Linked DNA regions of Homo sapiens: region 1 is linked to region 2. Evidence: promoter capture Hi-C in 16 types of primary human blood cells and fetal thymus (Javierre and others, 2016). All regions are on one chromosome and are shown on one strand. The core of a region is centred on a gene start or on the middle of the fragment in contact, and the rest is flanking DNA. Distances in the headings are between cores, read along the strand shown.

What was found. Contacts are between HindIII fragments. The CHiCAGO score rates a contact against its expected background, and 5 or more counts as called.
Region 1: a contact is called between a fragment that was not itself captured here and the fragment with the promoter of MECOM in region 2, in 1 of 17 cell types (endothelial precursors). The highest score is 8.1, in endothelial precursors.

What each region holds. Positions count from the first base shown.
Region 1 is chr3:169,300,888-169,303,587 of GRCh38, forward strand. All of the region lies in intron 2 of MECOM (MDS1 and EVI1 complex locus), which reads right to left. Among named protein-coding and RNA genes, the nearest start is that of MECOM-AS1, 150 kb to the right of the region's middle. The HindIII fragment of the contact is 3,028 bases long and covers 1-2,700 here.
Region 2 is chr3:169,662,374-169,665,123 of GRCh38, forward strand. MECOM (MDS1 and EVI1 complex locus) reads right to left here and starts at 1,339. Exons shown (of 17, transcript NM_004991.4): 1 at 963-1,339. The coding sequence starts at 999. RefSeq lists a silencer at 231-330. The HindIII fragment of the contact is 2,702 bases long and covers 1-1,560 here.

The DNA.
Region 1 (2,700 bases), core at 92-2,591, 360 kb before region 2:
CCAACACCTTGTTGGGTTATATTATGATTTGTCAAGGCTTCGCTCAATAAGTGGCCCTAAACTAAGACATGAACTTTTAGTTCTGTTTCTCGTGCTGTCACTAGTTACTGAATTAACTTGAAGCAATCTTTCTTAGCTCTGTTTCTATATTGTGGGTTCAGTATTTAAACCTTAGCCACAGCTCTCTTTTAACATGTTAGTTGGCTAATGTGGAATTAATTAAATATCGGCGCGATTCTGTTAGATAATAACATATCTCATCATCATTCTACACAATGTTATGATTATTCTCTGAAAGTGAAACAGCTGCACAAGGTGAGTGTCTGACTAGATTATGTCTAACCTGAACAGACTTTATTCCTCCAATCAAAACATTTTCCTCTCCTTCTTAAAGTTGACAAAGTGATTATAGAAATACAGAGATCTGAATAGAAGGAAAATGTATGATTCATATCATGTGAAGCAAGATGCCACCCAATCCACTCTAGGGAAAGTTGGGAGAAAATATGTCTTTTATTTTTTCTATCATAATGCAGAAAATAAGCACTAGCAGTGTTGATAGCCTATGGCTTTTCACTTAGAATCAACAATAGTGGCATGTCCTATGATTTTACTTTTTCAACACCATCCCCAAACAAAGCAATGAAATGTAAGATGATGTGAATGAGACCCTGAAATTTAAGGAGGCAGAATAATGGTTTGCAGGTGTGAACATTATTCATATTTTAAACTAAATTAAAATTTTCCCCATTACTCTAGGAAAATCAAATAATGTAATTACCAAGAGGTAAGATGCTTCTGATATGTAAAAGATATGCTAATTTTGATGACAGTTTTCAGTCATGTTAATCAAGTAAAGTATATTTATAGGATTTATATTACTGAGAATAATACCAAGGTGAAACTTACAAACTAATCCTTCATTTATAGCCTATTCTGTAAAATTTATAAACCCCAAATACAGGATCCTTTTATGTCCATTTCCTTCAAGTATAAATCAATATGATGGGGGCAACACAAAGGAGGGGGGCTTAGCACTGACATCAGTGCAGCTTGTTTAAATACCCAGATGATGTTTAGAAGACTGTACTTATTCTAGGAGATGTCAAAGAGGGGTTTTTAGTGAATATATGCCTCCTAAATGTCAATGATTGCTTTAAAATGTTCCCTCTAGGTTATCAAATATGAAGAGAGTTCCACTACCTTGCCTTTTTAAACACAATTGGGGCCCGACAGGACTAGACACTCCAGCAATAGCTGAACTTGAATATATACAATCTGTATCTGTGGCTTCAAGACAAGTAGAGAAAAGGAAGACACATGTCCATGTATCAAGTCCTGTTAGAAATGTAGCACAGTCTTAGACAATAGAAGAGAATCAGTGATTCAAGGTAGAGCTTGGACACAGTGCCAATGCTCCAGGGCAGGCAGAGGGACCAGGAATGCCGTGGGGTGGCACAACACCTCCTGCTGTGAAAATGGCAGAGTTTGTTTCCCATGGCCCAGTCTGTGTGCCTCAGGGTTTTGTTGTTGCTGTTGGTTTTTCTCTAAAATAAAAAGAAATCTGGTGAATTCAAACAATTATTACATTATAATTATCGCCTGGTTAATATTGATTGAAAGAATGAATAGAATGAATATTTTTTGAACCAGGGAAAAACTATGAACAAATATAAATTTTAAAAGTGTAATATTTGCCAGGTGTGGTGGATCATGCCTGTAATCCCAGCACTTTGGGAGGCCGAGGCCGGTGGATCACTGAGGTCATGAGTTCAAGACCAGCCTGGCCAACATGAGCAAACCCCATCTCTACTAAAAATACAAAAATTAGCTGGGTGTGGTGGCAGGCACCTGTAATCCCAGCTACTCAGGAGGCTGAGGCAGGAGAATCAGTTGAACCCAGGAGACAGAGATTGCAATGAGCCGAGATTGTACCACTGCACTCCAGCCTGGGCAATAGAGGGAGACTCTGTCTCAAAAAAAAAAAGCGTAACATTTTAGAAACAAACTAGATTTTACTAAACCAGATAAAAGATTAACAACAAAGAAAAATTTGAACAGAGCCAAAACCTAAACACACTGAGGAGTCCTCTTTCAGATTATTTTCACATCTTTAATATTTATTTGAAGAGAGATGACATATACTCAACTACTCTTACATTATTTCTTTCTAAGACAATGATCACCCAAAAAGGTCACATGAAAAACACCACCAATAAATTTATGTCACCGATCAAGAGAATTCTTTGGATTTTCACTAAAAGAAACCATTTTACATATTTTCTACAAATTCCAAGCCAATTGTCTGTAACATCATCAAAAGTCTAACTTCCCCCTTCCCACAAAACAAGAAAGTTCCTTGCCATTCTTTCCTCTCCATGTAATGACACACATTGATGGCATTTTCAGAAAATTTCACTCATGGAATTCATGGCTAACCCAACTTGAAACAGATATATATATATATATCACACTACTATTCATTCATTTATTCAATATATGTTTACTAAATGCCAACTCTGTGCCTGACCTAAAGATTCATAAAACAGTGGAGGTGGAAGACATGTTAGAAGTCATTCATAACAGACGTTGCAATATCTGGGACCTTAAGCGGTAGTGTAAAGATGTGAACACTCAAGTGTAAGATAACAGGGAGTGGTGAAATCCATGTGAAACAAACCACACAGTCCACTTAAGGCA
Region 2 (2,750 bases), core at 89-2,588:
AGCCCGAGGTGCGCGGGTCGCAGCGCGCCCTCTCTGCCTCCTGCTCCTAGGCTGCCGCCGCTGGCTGTGTGCCCTCCACTCCCGGCTCTCCGAGCGCTCGCTGGGCCTCTTCTCTCCCCACGTCCGAGCGCTCGCTGGGCCTCTTTCCTCCCCACCTGCGCGTGGCTGTGCGGAGCCGGTAGCTCTGCTCTGCCCGTGCCCCCGCCCCCACCCCGCGATCACAGCCCCCACCTTGGTGTCCCCTACTCCCCGCCGCAGTCCTCCCGCCGCGCAGCGCCGCGCCGGAGAGCATGGCCGAGCGCACAGCGCCCACTACCGCAGCCGCGGCTCGGCGCAGTCCACCCGCCCGCCCGCGCAACTTCCAGCGGCCGCCTCGCAACTTTTCCCAAGTCCACCACAGCCGCCCGCCGCCGCCGCCACTGTGGCTCCCTCTGAGCCGCCTACCCTACCCAAACCCCAGAAACAAACCGAGGCTCGAAAAGGCTCCCTTCTCCTGCCGGCCCCCCATCCCCCGCGCCCCCCTCCTCCCACACCCGGGACTAGCTGGTTGGCCAGAGGCAACTCTCCCCCGCCTGGGGGGAAGGGGAGGGGAGGGGGAGACTTTCTCCTCTTCTCTTCCCCCCCACCCCACCCCTTCGCGCTCACTCTCGCGCTCTCTCCTCCCTCCCACCCCTAGTCTTTGCTGCCCCCACCCCCACCCCCACCCCGGGGTTGCCACAGCTGGTCGGTGCGCGGGACTGAGGGCTGCCCAGGCTCCTCCGGCGCCCAACCCGGGAGCGAGAGCGCGGGCGACCGGGAGCAGAGACTGGAACCGGCAGGTTGCTGGGGCTGCGCTCCGCCTGCCCTCCACCCGGGGCCCCGGCGCAAGAGGCAGCCCGCGCTCCCTCCCGGAGCGCTAGAGACAGATATGCAAGATGGCAGAGGAGGGGGAAAAGCCAATAGAAAAGGGATATTGCACCTACTTGTGGCCAGTTTCCTTGCCCTGCCTTTGGATCTCATGCTGTGCCCAGTCCTGCAGCCGCTGGTGTGTGGTTGGGGCTTTTTTTTCTTGGATCCTTTCCTTCTTTTGCTCTCCCTCTCGCTCCCTCCCTCTCTCTCCTGTCTCTCTCTCTCTCTCTCTCTCTCTCTCTCTCTCTCTCTCTCTCTCTCTCTCTCTCCCTCCCTCCTGTTTCTCTCCTGTTTCTCTCTCTCTTCCACACACTCACTCTCTGTATTTTCTTCTTTCACTCTCTCTCCCTCCCTCTCTCCCTTTCTCTCAATCCACACTCGCTATCTCTCCAGCATTGTCAGTTTGGACACCTTCGCACATGCGCGCTAGACGCCCCTCCAACATCTCAGCGCCGCCAAAAAAAGTTTGGAGCGATTTATCACTTTGATTTGGAGATCTTGTCAGATGGCAATCGCCGAGGAGGCGGAGAAAGGGAGCCGCGGGGAGGGCGGCGGGGGGCGGGGAGCGAACGCAGGGAGCCAGAGGGGAGCAGACACCTCGCCCAAAAAAAGGGGAGGGGGGAATTGAAAAGGCTTGGGCAGAGGATTGATTCCATGTTAGAATCGCCAACAAGCTTGTATCATGATTATTGTTATTGTTTTTCCCACCATAAATTGCAGACATTTTTCTATACCATCTACGAGGGAAGCAAGAAGCCAGGGGGGAAAAAAACTTTAAAAACATTTTTTAAAAACCCTTCTCCTGTTAAAGAACTAGAAGGGCTGGACCCTCGGCTAATAATCCAGGAGAAAGTGAGAATCATCCTGAACTTGAGAAATCTACTGCTGCCGCTGCTACTGCTACTGAAGCTATTGCAGCTTCCGCTTTCAGGGTTGTAAGCAGAATAAATAACTGGTTTTTTCCTCGATTTTAGCTGTAATACCAATGCTTGCTGCCATCCTTGGGACATTTCAGTATTCTTTCCCTACCAAGTAGTAATGATCACCCTTGATTCCCGGGTCCGGGCCGGCGCTGGCATTTGACATCCAAAGACCTCCTGCTTTCTCAGAGGTCGGCTGTCACCTTCCGGCCTCCCCCACTGCTGCCCCGGTCGCCTCCCGATGCAGCTCTGCTTGCCTGCCATTTTCACTCACTCGCTTAAACCTACAACCTCGGGGTCAAAAGAAAGAGGAGTAGGGAGGAAAATCACACACTCTTAAAAAAATACATTGTTGAAATTTCCTTTAATTACAGGATTTACCAATGAAGTGCCACTCAGAAATGGGAATTCCTAAAGGGGCTAGCTGTGTACAAGGTATGAATCAATCCCAACTAGGTATAGATTTTCTTTTGGTACAACCTTCTTGCATTAAACAGTTTTGTTCAATACCTTCCATGTGCTATTTATGTCCCCATTAATATCTGTTGCAAATCCTGCCAGACACCATAAAAGAAAATTACAATCTTTTCAGTCTCCGTGCTGCAACAATACATCCTTGATGTTCAAGTTAAAGGAAAAGAAAAGCAGGTCCTGGGCATGAGTTTGGCAAAGGCTGTGGAGGGAAAGGGGAATCATTGAGAATGCCCAGTCGTACCTGTTGGTATTTATTATCAAATCTAGGACTGCAGACATGAGAGAGCAAATAACAAGGTTCAACCCCAAAGGGTATCAATGGCCTGCAAATCTCTTTATTCAAGAGAATCAAAGTTCAAAGAATTTGTCCTTGTTAAGGATGCCTACCATTTTCCTTTATCCAGAGCTGTGTAATTCTGGGGGCATTTGGCTGTAAGATAGAGGTCCCTGGAGAACCAAGCTACAGGT